Regions from separate parts of the Homo sapiens genome. Here regions 1 and 2 are each linked to region 3. The links are contacts of gene promoters, found by promoter capture Hi-C in blood cells and fetal thymus (Javierre and others, 2016). All regions are on one chromosome and are shown on one strand. The core of a region is centred on a gene start or on the middle of the fragment in contact, and the rest is flanking DNA. Distances in the headings are between cores, read along the strand shown.

Region 1 (4,135 bases), core at 403-2,902, 230 kb after region 3:
AAAATTATCTGGGTGTTGTGGTGTGCACCTGTGGTCCCAGCTACTCGGGAGGCTGAGGTAGAGCCCAGTAGGTGGAGGTTGCAGTTAGCCGAGATAGTGCCACTGCACTCCAGCCTGGGTGACAGAGTGAAACCCCTGTCTCAAAAAAAAAAAAAAAAAAAAAGCTTTGATATTTGTTTTTTAAAACATTTTAATTTCTCACCTTTTTATTTTTAAAAACTTCAACTTACAGAAAAATGGAAGGAACAGTAAAACTAGCACCCATTTACCCTTTACATAGATTCACCGATTGCTAATATTTGCTTTCTCTCTCTTTCTATATAGATAGCAACATAGAAATATAAATAGAGATGTGGACATCTGTATCTTCACATTGATTATACTAGTACCTAAAATTAGTCCATATTCCAGCCAGGCGTGGTGGCTCACACCTGTAATCCCAGCACTTTGGGAGGCTGAGGCAGGTGGATCACCTGAAGTCAGGAGTTTGACACCAGCCTGACCAACATGGAGAAACCCCATCTCTACTAAAAATACAAAAATTAGCCGGGCATGGTGGCACACGCCTGTAATCTCAGCTACTAGGGAGGCTGAGGCAGGAGAATCATTTGAACCCAGTGGGTGGAGGTTGCAGTGAGCCAAGATTGCGCCACTTCACTCCAGTCTGGGCAAAAGAGCAAAACTCCATCCCAAAAAATATATAAAATAAAATAAAATAGGTCCATATTCCAATGTCCCCTTGTTCGGATGTCCCAATAATGTCCTTTATAGCGTTTTTCCCCCCAATGCAGGAACTAATCAAGGATTTGGCATTGACTTTTGTCACGTGTCTTGACTCCTTTAATCTAGAAAAGTTTCCTGGCTTTGTCTTCCGTGACACTGACTTTTGTTAAGACAAGGTCTCGCTCTGTCACCCAGGCTGGAGTACAGTGCCTCACTGCAACCTCTGCCTCCCGGGTTCAAGCAATTCTCCTGCCTTAGCCTCCCGAGTAGCTGGGATTACAGGCACCGGCCACCATGCCGGGCTAATGACACTGACGTTTTTGAAGTATCCATGTAGGTTGCTTGCAGGCAGCTCCCTGGTTTGTTTTTTGTTTGTTTGTTTTACAACTATGGGTCTCACTTTCTGAGTTGGGTGGCATGAGGTTGCCTCCCCAGCCATCGCCCTGGCTGCTGCGCCTGGAATTGAAATCTTGCCCTGAAGTGCCACCTAGTGGTCTTCTATGTGAAGGATTTTCTTTTTCCTCCCAGTTCTTATCCTGGAAAGCTCAGGCATGCTCCACGGCACTGAAAGGAAGATGGGTGGCTCACGCCTGTAATCCCAGCACTTTGGGAGGCCAAGGTGGGCGGATCGCTTGAGGCCGGGAGTTCAAGACCAGCCTAGGCAACATAGGGTAACCGTGCCTCTACAAAAAAAAAAAAAAAAAAAATAGCCAGGTGTGGTGCACGCCTGTAGTCCCAGCTACTCAGGCGGCTGAGGGGAAGGATGGCCTGAGCCCAGGAGGTCAAGGCTTCAGTGAGCTGTGATTGTGCCCCTACACTCCAGCCTGGGTGACAGAGTGAGACCCTGTCTCAAAAACAAACAAACAAACAGAAACGTGGCTGGGCATGGTGGCTCATGTCTGTAATCCCAGCACTTTGGGAGGCCAAGGTGGGAGGATCACTTGAAGTCAGGAGTTCGAGACCAGCCTGGCCAACATAGTGAAACCCCATCTCTACTAAAAATACAAAAATTAGCTAGGCGTGGTGGCAGGTGCCTGTAATCCCAGCTACTCAGGAAGATGAGGTGTGAGAATCATTTGAACCTGGAAGGTGGAGGTTGCAGTAAGCCGAGATCATGCCACTGCACTCCAGCCTAGGTGACAGAGTGAGATTACGCCTCAAAAAAAAAAACAAACAAAAAAAACACAAAAACCTGAACCTCGTGTAAGTACTCCACCCAGCAAGCAGGGATGGTCTCTGCAGTGTCCATGAGGTTGGGAGGGAGCGTGTGGCCATGACTCTTGCCTCAGCCCCCAGCCATGACCCTGACCCTGACCCCCTCCACTCCCAGGACTACATCCCCGTGGAGGGTGAGCTGCTGTTCCAGCCTGGGGAGGCCTGGAAAGAGCTGCAGGTGAAGCTCCTGGAGCTGCAAGAAGTTGACTCCCTCCTGCGGGGCCGCCAGGTCCGCCGTTTCCACGTCCAGCTCAGCAACCCTAAGTTTGGGGCCCACCTGGGCCAGCCCCACTCCACCACCATCATCATCAGGGACCCAGGTAGGCAGAGCCTGGGGGTCGGCTTAAGCAGGAGGAGAGGGAAGACTGGGGGGTCTCTCAACTAGGTCTGTCAGACTTAGCAAATCCAAACACAGGACGCCCAGGTAAATCTGAATTTCAGGTAAACAACATACACGTTGGTAGGATAAGTATGTCCCATGCAATATTTGGAACATACTTATCCTTTTTTTTGCAAAATGGGCTGGGTATACTGGCTCACACCTGTAATCCCAGCATTTTGGGAGGCCAAGGTGGGAGGATCACTTGAGCCCAGGAGTTCTAGACCAGCCTGGGCAACATAGTGAGACCTCGTCTCTACAAAAAATAAACAAATTAGCTTGGCATAGTGGTGTGCACCTGCAGTCCCAGCTATTCCGGAGACTGAGGTGGGAGGATCACTTGAGCCCAGGGGGTCTGGGCCGCAGCAAGCTGTGATCGCACCACTGCACAGCACCTGGGCCATGGAATGAGATCCTGTCCCCCAAGAAAAAATAATCTTGTTGTTTATCTGAAATTCAAATGTAACTAGGCATCCTGCATTTTATCTGGCAACCCTACAGCTAGAGAGGCTGTTGTCACCACACAATAGGAATTCTCCCATCAGACCCTGGCCCTTTGGCTTCAGCCTCAATTCCAACTAACATGCAGATGCTTGTGGAAGGAAGGAGTGGGCCAGTTAGTTCCTATCAGCCCTCAGCCTCCCAACTGGGAGAAAGCCTGCCAGGAAGATGGGAGAGGAGGGAGATACTCAGGGTACAGTGTGGAGATGGGGTGGGGAGCAAATGTTCTCATGTGGAATGTTCCCTGAGCTGCCAAGGGAGAAAGGGGCAGACCAACTCCCTCCCGCTTCTGTTCCTCCAGAGACCCTCCTGGGTCCTCCGCCAAGCTTGGCAGGATGCTCTATGTGGCAGCAATGGGGCACCACCAGGTCTCCAGAGACGCGGGTGGGCAGGTCTGAGTTGAATGCGCTGGGTAGAGCGCCCTGGGTGTTGAAGTGGGTCTCTGGCGCCCCCTGGTGGTGAAGGGGGATCTGAGTGGTTGCCCGGCCCCAACCTGACCCGTTAGATGAACTGGACCGGAGCTTCACGAGTCAGATGTTGTCATCACAGCCACCCCCTCACGGCGACCTGGGCGCCCCGCAGAACCCCAATGCTAAGGCCGCTGGGTCCAGGAAGATCCATTTCAACTGGCTGCCCCCTTCTGGCAAGCCAATGGGGTACAGGGTAAGGCGGGGGGCTGAGGGTCACGACAGGTGGATGGGCGGTCTGGCACCAGCACTCACAGAAGAGGTGGGCCGTCCAAGGCCAGGGCCCCCTGAGAGAGAGCAGACAGTGGAACCTAGCACAGGTGGTCAGAGGGAAACCCGGTCTGTGCTGGGAAAGAGGGAAGACCCATTCCTGAGTTTATCAGACATTTGCCCTCCTTCCTAGAATGGGGCCCCCTCCCACCCCCGCATGGGAGATACCCCCACCTGCTCTGCCCTAGTCCTGACGTGTGCACATGGCAGATCTCTCAGCCCCTCCCTCGGGCCTCATCTGTGCAAAGAGGACAGTAAGGGCAGAGGTCAGAGGAGGGACAGGCAGCTTGGGTGCCTGCTGCTCCCTGCTGACCAGGACCCCTGTCCCTGGGGGTAGGTAAAGTACTGGATTCAGGGTGACTCCGAATCCGAAGCCCACCTGCTCGACAGCAAGGTGCCCTCAGTGGAGCTCACCAACCTGTACCCGTATTGCGACTATGAGATGAAGGTGTGCGCCTACGGGGCTCAGGGCGAGGGACCCTACAGCTCCCTGGTGTCCTGCCGCACCCACCAGGAAGGTGAGGCCTCGCCATGTCTGTCCATTTGTCCCCTGGCTGCCCTGATGCCAGCATGCCCAGAC
Region 2 (4,088 bases), core at 1,226-3,725, 160 kb after region 3:
TTTTTTTTGGTAGAGTTGGGGTTTCACCATGTTGGTGAGGCAGGTCTCAAATTCCTGACCTCAAGTGATCCACCCACCTCAGCCTTCCATAGTGCTGGGATTACAGGCATGGGAATCCCATGGGATTACACCCAGCCCTTTTTTTTTTTTTTTTTTTTTAAATCAAACGGCTACAGTTTGGTGCTGCCACCTCAATTTGTTCTAAAGGCTAGCAGTTTACCCACCATTGCTTGTGCAAAGGTCAACACGATGAAAAAGACAATGACTTAAAACGGTTTTGACTTTGCAGACCCCTTAGAAAAACTACTATTATTCTAAAACAGAAATCATGGGTCAGTGATTCAGTAGTTGTTTGAGAACTGTTTTTATTGCTCTGAAAATGTCCGTTAAGTTGTTAGCCTTATGGGGTCTTGAGCCATGTTGAGGGTGGGTTAGTATTCAGAGTAAGATGATTCAGCCCTGGCATGGTGGGGAGGAGTTCAAGCTCTGGAATGAGACTGGGGTTTTCTTGGGGAAGTCCTTTAACCTCAGTTTTTCTCATCGCGAAAATAATCATCATAATAAAATCTGTCTCATTTATTTTAAGGTTCAACTAAGTAAAAATAAAATGCAGTTGTCCCTCACTATCTGTGGGGATCCCAGGACCCCCTCCTCAGATGCTCAAGGTTCTGATATAAAATGGTGTAGCATTTGCATTTAGCCTTGGGAATCCTTCTGGATACTTTAAATCATCTTATGATACTTGATACAATGTAAATGGCTGTGTAACTAGTTGTTAGACTGTGTTGTTTAGGGAATAATGACAAGCAAAAAAGTCTGACACGTTCAACACAGACACAATTTAAAACACACACACACACACACACACACACACACAATTGGAGGTGAGTTCTGGCCATGGATTCAGAACCACAGATCCAGAGGGCCGGCTGTACTCGACTCAGTATGTCTGGTGTGTGTTTGTTCAGTAGCATTGGCTGAACTGACCATCACTTCCAGTTCCACCTGTGCACACTTCCCAGGCTGGTCATACCATGTTGTCGGCCGGTTTTGGAAGAGCAGATTCCATGTTTTAAACTGGAGTGCTCTCAGAAGAGCAGTCATAAAGGTGAGGGGACTCAAAAGCACATCACCTGAGGGAAAGGTAGAGCTGGAAGACAGAAGACTCGGGAAGAGCCGGGGTTGCGCTCTGGTGTTTGAAGGTCTGCTGAGGGAAAGGCTAAGGCAGCCTGAGGCAGACCTGAAGCCGCGCGCAGAATTCCACAGAAGTTTACCTTCATATAACGAAGGACCTTTTGTGATCTCCGGCCACAAGTGGGTTGAGCTGTTTCATAAGGTAGTGAGCTCCCTGTTTCTAGAGGTTTTTCAGGCAAGTTTTTTTTTTTTTTTTTTTTGAGACGGAGTCTCGTTCTGTCGCCCAGGCTGGAGTGCAGTGGCTCCATCTCAGCTCACTGCAAGCTCCGCCTCCCAGGTTCACGCCATTCTCCTGCCTCAGCCTCCCGAGTAGTACCTGGGACTACAGGCGCCCGCCACCACACCTGGCTAATTTTTTGTATTTTTAGTAGAGACAGGGTTTCACCATGTTAGCCAGGATGGTCTCGATCTCCTGACCTCGTGATCTGCCTGCCTCGGCCTCCCAAAGTGCTGGGATTACAGGTGTGAACCACCATGCCCGGCCTTCAGGCAAGTTGTAAGAAACGACTTGTCATCAACATCATAAAATCTGTTGGTAGAGGTTGGATTAAACTCCAGGGAGTTCCCTGGGAACCCCCTAGGAAAGGACTTGGGCATTATACATAAGCAAAGTTGAGTATTCTCTAACTTTGTTATCTGATGACTTTAAAATATGCACAGACTGGAATTGCCCTGGTTTTTATTGCTCTGATGTTTGGGGTTACCTGTGAGCACAGAGTCCCATGTTTGGGAGCGTGAGTAAGAACTAACTCTGGCCCACCTGGGCAGAGAGACTTGGTCCTGTCCTTTAGGTTGGGGCAGCAGGGATTGGGCTCTGCAGGTGCTGAGTTTGCCCCAAACTAGCGAACAGGAGATTGGAGAAGGAGGCTGGGCGTTGCATAGGAAACAAGCTTTGTTTCCTGTGTTCCATTATTTTTTCGTCTCTAACTTCAAGTTTCTGATCTTGTCTCTTCGGTAAGCAGCAAATTAACAGGAGGTGGCACTGCTGTTCTGGAAAAAGAGCAGACGTGACAGTCCTGGGGCCAGCACCTCACTCCGGGAAAGGAGTGCCTGGTGGCTGAAGTGCTTCCTCCCCCTGTTTACCTTTGGCACCCGAACATCCCTTTCGCCACTCTCCTTTGTCCATTTTTACCTCGTTTGCTCTGGACGGTTTCCCTTGTTTATTTTTTTCTCCACTCCTACAGTTCCTGTGGATGAAGCTGTTTCCATTCACTCACTGTCCCTGACACACCCTTCCTTTGAAAACAAACATGGGGGTTGAGAGCCTGGAGCAAGAAAGATGGAGCAGCCTATTGCCAGCTGACTGGGAGGGACTGGGATCGCCGGCCTCCCTGAGGTGCTGATCTAGGAAAAGATCTAGATCTCACGCTCTGATCTAGGAAAAGAATCCTCCCAGCCCAGGAGTGTACATCTGTGAAAACAAAATTCCGTCTTCTGGGTCAAGGAGGTGGCATCAGGTGGGGGTTGGGGGGAATTGTTCTGGCATTTTTTAAAAAGGCGTGTATAACCCCAGTTAAGAGAAGACATTTTTAAAATTCTAAGATCCCTAAAGTAGTACTAAAATGTGGAGCTCACAAACAATTTAGAGCCGGTCTGGTGGACTTGTGGTCCGAAGACCTGGGTTGTGCCCTGGCCTGGCTTCCCTCTGGCTGTGGAACCACAGGCCTGTAACTTAAGCTTCACTCGGCTCCATTTGGGCAGTCAGGGCCGTGAGACCCCCTTTGCAAGGTGGTTGTGACTGCGGCGTGAGAGAATGTACATGAAGGTGCTTTTCGCAGTATACAATGCACTTGTTAGCAGTGCTTGGCCTTTTCAGTGTAACTAAGTCTGATTATACGCCCTTATCCTGTAGGTTAGAAGGCGCCACGATTTCTCGGCTCACTGCCCTTCATGTCTCCATAGTTTTTCACAGACCTCTGGAACAAAAAGAAATGCCTAATGGCTGAGTGTGGTAGCTCAAGCCTGTAATCCCAGCACTTGGGGATGCCCGAGGCAGGAGAATTGCTTGAGCACAGGAGTTTGAGACCAGCCTGGGCAACATGGTGAAACCCGTCTCTACAGAAACTACAAAAGTTAGCCAGGCATGGTAGTGTGTGCCTGTAGTCCCAGGTACTTGGGAGGCTGAGATGGGAGGATCATTTGATCCTGGGAGGCAGAGGTTGCTGTGAGCCGAGATCTGTACCACTGCACTCCAGCCTGGGCAGCAAACCAAGACCCTGTCTGAAAAAAAGAAGAAAAAATGCCTAACGAATGGTTCTGTTTCTTATGTCATTAGCTTCAGACACTAAGTATTACTGTCCTCACAATTCAGTAGCTGCTTAAAAAAATAATATGTGTAAGTGTGTGTGGTATGTGACATGTGGAGTAAGGCTGTGTTTCCTGTAACAGTTTTGTTAAATATCCTGTGGCACCTTTGTGAGTTTGCTGGGTTACCCCAGGTAGTAGTCTGGGAACTGTGGCAGTAGATTGTCTTAAGAGTTCCAGAGTGGGGGCCTTGACAAGTCCTCACTTAGCCTCCTCTGGAGGCCCAGCCGGGTGAGTGGTTCTCTGCCTCAGTGGCTATTCATACCCATCCTGAAGAAGACCAGGTCTCCCAGTTGACGGGAGTTACTGACTCACAGTCTAGATGAGGATTTGTATTGGGCAGAGCTGACTCGGTAATTCCCTCACCCACTCTCCTCTCAACTCCTTCCCACTGTCCTTGCATTACTCCTGATCTTTTGAAGTACCAGAATCAAATATCTGAAAACTGCCTAAGGGGCTAATCTCCCAGGAATTTGTTGTTGACTGCTGATTATAGGAAGAACTTTGAGGAGCCTGCCAGCAATTGCATGCAGGCAGCACTGCAGGTTGAAATCTTATATTCTTTTTATTGAACACAGACCCAGAACACG
Region 3 (3,915 bases), core at 1,416-3,915:
GCCGGGTGAGAAAGCAAGACTCCGTCTCAAAAAAAAAAAACAGCTATCTTATAGATATCCTCTTAAGACACGAACATAGAGGTGCTCTGGTTGAAATGTGTGCGTTTGAGGTTGGGGGTAGGGATGAAGTTCTATCTATTCAGTCTTCTCTAACCCACTGTCAGAAATCTCATGGCTCCAAAGAACACATCAGAAAGACCATCTGCTAGAAGGCAACTCCACGAAGACAGGAATTTGGGTCTGTTTTGTTCACTACTATGATCCAGTGCTTAGAACAGAGCCTGAGCCAGGCACAGTGACTCACGCCTGTAATCCTAGTACTAGGAGGCCTACCTAGGTGGGTGGATCACTTGAGGTCTGGAGTTCGAGACCAGTCTGGTCAACATGGTGAAACCCCCATCTCTACCAAAAATATAAAAAAAAATTAGCCGGGCATGGTGGCACACACCTGTAATCCCAGCTACTAGGGAGGCTGAGGCAGGAGAATGGCTTGAACCCAGAAGGCGGAGGTTCCCGTGAGCCGAGATCCTGCCACTGTACTCCAGCCTGGGTGACAAGCTATAGGCACTCAATAACAATGTGAATGAACGTACTTCAACCCTCTAATTTTGCAGGCCAGGAAACTGCAGCCCAGAGAGGTTAAGTGACTTGCCTAAGGACACACAGCAAGGGGGACCCAACTTTCTCTCTGGCTCTCTCACACAGAGGCACTTCTTACTGAGAACAAGACAGTCCACCCTCCTCAAATATGCAGATCACAGTGACCCACCCCCACCCACCAAGCCTCTGTGAACTGAGCGCTCGGCCTCAGCGGGATGCTCGTCCCACCCGGTACTCACTTGTCTTTGTGGCCTTGACCTTCGCCACCAGTTTCTGCACACCGGTCACATCTCCATTCTTGACGGCGAGGATCAGGTCCTGTTCACGACCCATACTGGCTCCTGGGCTGAGCTCTACACTCAGGAGTCCAGGGCAAAGGCAGGCAACGGGTCCAAGCTGGGGCGTCAGGGCGCCATGCCACAGCCCCTTGGAGGGCTCCCGGTTCCGGGGGAGCAAGTCAGGTGTCCCAGGCAGTGGGCTCCTCGTCAGGTACTGAGGGATACTCCCAAAGGTGCTCCGTGAACTGCCACCACACGAAGGAAAGCTAATCTTTGAGGGGGTGAAGGCTACATGGAAATCTGGATGGATATCAGCTTGTGGCTTCCGACAGCTCCAGGATGGGCTGGGACTGGGCACACCAATCTTCCCGGCTTGGCTGTGGAACACCAGTGCCCACCCAGAGAGCAGCCAGCATTCCCTTGGGCCTCAGGCAGCAGCGGTGCACTGGTCTCAGGGCTCTGGAAAAAGCACGGGGCCTCTGTCGAATGCTGGGCCACAGCCTGCAAGGGTCCCAGAAGTGGAGTGCAGAGGATGAGCAGGACAAGACCTCCAGGGAGCCCCCAAGCCACCCTGGCTCCCCTCGGAGTCGATGGTGATGCTGAGCCACTGAAAGTGGGGAGGAAGCTGCTATGCATGAGAGGAGTATTGGTGGGGGGGAGGTGGCATTCTGGGAGGGGGAGGCTGAGTCACTGGGGCCCCAGGGCACCTGGCAGTACCTCAACCTTGGGCAGGAGGGGCCCTGGCAGCATGACATACTGGGGCAGGCCGGGCCAGCAGCCTGTTCTCCACAGCCCGAGGCTCCGACACCCACAGACAACTGGCGGGCCAGGAGGTGGGGCCGGGAGGGTCAGGCACAGGCAGGCGGGCAGGGGTCACTCCCTGTCAAAGGCACCAGCCCCCAGATTCCTCCCTACGGAGGCTTCAAGGCTTCGCTTTAATGGCTGGATGCCCTAGTCCTAGGACTCTTTGTGAACGGAGAGCATGAAGTGCTTCTGGCCCCCCATTTCTGGGGGCTCTGCCTGCTAGAGAGGGAAGCTGCACAGCACCTGTTGCTGACCCGCCCTCGCCCCTTGTGTCGGGTGGAGGAGCAGCTGGGCAGAGAACAGAGAGAGCTGGGGCACTGCTGACAAACGGGGCTCCCAAGCCCCCCAAGCCTGAACCTGAAGCCCAGACCCTGGACTCCACCGCAGAGAAGCTTACGTCAGTTTCTCGGTGGCAGCGAATTTACTGCCAGAGTCTTGTGGCATGAGATCCGCGCAGGCCTGGGGCCCTGGCCGGGAACCCCTCACTCCCCAAACGTCCCAAGCCCAACCCAGGGGCACTCCCACGCGGAGCCCGCGGCCGACACGGGCGGAGGGCGCCCTTGGCAGTGCCTGGGGTCGGGCTGGCTCCCCCGCCCCCCGGAATGTCCCTCCAGCGCCTCGCAACCCCCCAGCCCAGCCCAGCCCAGCCCAGGCCCACCGGGGAACAAAGCGGCGGGAGAAGCCGGGCGGGCCAAGCGCCCGAGGTATAAACGCGGAGGATGGAAAAAGGGGCGCGAGGAGGACGGAAGGAGCGGGGAGATGGAGGTGCCCGCCGACCCCGCAAGAAAAGTTAGTTTGCGCCCGCCCCCAGGGGCGCTGACCCCCAGCGCGGGCCCCGCAGCCTCACCTCTCCCGGCCGCCCGCCGGGGTCCGGCTGGCCCTGCTCGGTCCCTGGCACTCAGGACGGTGGCTCCCACTCCCCCCTGCCCCCCTTTCTCCTTCTCCTTTTCCAAGGCCGGCTCGGCGCCTCCCGCAGGAAATCCCGCCCCTCCCCCCTCCCTCCCGCCGGATCGGGAACGGAGGGACCGTCCCGGCCGCGCAGTCAGGCTGTCAGTCAGCACCGGCGGCTCCGCCCCCATCCGCGCCAGATCCCGCCCCAACTCGTGCCCGCCCGGACCGGGGGCGCTGACCGGATCAGCGCATGCGCCCAGGTGAAACGGAGGGGCGGGGGGCGCGGGGGCAGAGGTGACCTGGGGCTCTGGACTTAGACCCAAGGGCTAGACACCCCGGGTCTGACTGGTGGGAGAGAAGACGTAATGTGAAGGGGGTTGGCAACCAAGACGCGGGACCCCACTTGCAGTACCCCCCGTCTGCGGCCGGCGTCGCCCACCCGCAGCCGCCGGCCGGGCAATGGCACCACCTAGCGGACGGCACCAGTGCGGGGACCCCAGCCTCGAGGAGGCGCTCGTGCCGGGCGGAGGTGGCGCTTCAGCACCGTCGTGGGCCGGACAGCGCCTCCCGCCCCCGGCCCTCGAAACCTGGCTTCGGAGCCCAGCCGTAGGGACCGGACGGAAGACACCGAAGGAATGGCGAACCTCCCCGGACCGCTCCTGACAGTTCCCGGGTGGCCTTCGGCCTGCAAAGTCGGAATTTGCACACCCTCCGCTCGTCCTTCCCTGAGCCCTTCTGCCCTCCTTGCCCAGCCCGGGCGGTGGGGACTAAGCAGCGCGAGGCTGCAGAGGGGCGGTCACAAGTGTGACCATTCGCACTGCACTCCAGACGCCGGCTCCTCAGGCTTTACTGGAGAGAAGCCCCGAGGAGGGCTAGGGGCAAAAGAGGGGCCTTCTGCATCTCCAGCAACCTGCGGGCTGAGCTCCCAGACCCGGCGTCGGGGTGCGCTTCCGGGCGGGCGCTAGGACCGGGGACAATCAGGAGGGCGCAGAGCGGGCTGGGGCGGTGCAGGGGGCGGGGCTGCCGCGGCATTGCGGATCGGCGGGCACTAGGGCAGCGCGGAGCTCCGGCGGTGGGCGGGGCGTGGCGGCGCGCGCAGCGGCAGGCGGCGGCGGGATGGAGCCCGAGCCCGAGCCCGCGGCCGTGGAGGTTCCCGCGGGGCGCGTGCTCAGGTGCGGCGCGGCCCGGCCGGAGTGGGTGTCGGGGGCGCGGGGCCAGCGCGGGTAGGGAAACCGGCGCCCGGGACCCGGCCAGGCGGCCCCCGATGCGCGGCGCTGACCCCGCGTCCCCTTCTCCCCCAGCGCCCGGGAGCTCTTCGCCGCCCGCTCGCGGTCGCAGAAGC

The links. The method cuts DNA at HindIII sites, captures the fragments that hold promoters and counts their contacts. A CHiCAGO score of 5 or more calls a contact.
Region 1: a fragment that was not itself captured here is called in contact with the fragment with the promoter of CASKIN2 in region 3 in 5 of 17 cell types (endothelial precursors, erythroblasts, M0 macrophages and 2 more); the score reaches 11.9 in endothelial precursors.
Region 2: a fragment that was not itself captured here is called in contact with the fragment with the promoter of CASKIN2 in region 3 in 1 of 17 cell types (endothelial precursors); the score reaches 5.5 in endothelial precursors.

What each region holds. Positions count from the first base shown.
Region 1 is chr17:75,746,788-75,750,922 of GRCh38, forward strand. It overlaps ITGB4 (integrin subunit beta 4), which reads left to right. Exons shown (of 40, transcript NM_000213.5): 27 at 2,054-2,258; 28 at 3,324-3,481; 29 at 3,893-4,073. Among named protein-coding and RNA genes, the nearest start is that of GALK1, 16 kb to the right of the region's middle. The HindIII fragment of the contact is 2,980 bases long and covers 163-3,142 here.
Region 2 is chr17:75,677,618-75,681,705 of GRCh38, forward strand. The region is part of intron 3 of SAP30BP (SAP30 binding protein); the gene reads left to right. Among named protein-coding and RNA genes, the nearest start is that of SAP30BP-AS1, 5.1 kb to the right of the region's middle. The HindIII fragment of the contact is 787 bases long and covers 2,083-2,869 here.
Region 3 is chr17:75,512,872-75,516,786 of GRCh38, forward strand. CASKIN2 (CASK interacting protein 2) reads right to left here and starts at 2,666. Exons shown (of 20, transcript NM_020753.5): 1 at 2,530-2,666; 2 at 840-1,337. The coding sequence starts at 933. TSEN54 (tRNA splicing endonuclease subunit 54) reads left to right here and starts at 3,657. Exons shown (of 11, transcript NM_207346.3): 1 at 3,657-3,745; 2 at 3,875-3,915. The coding sequence starts at 3,690. RefSeq lists enhancers at 1,776-2,342, 3,437-3,731 and silencers at 2,516-3,125, 3,516-3,895. The HindIII fragment of the contact is 2,660 bases long and covers 2,073-3,915 here.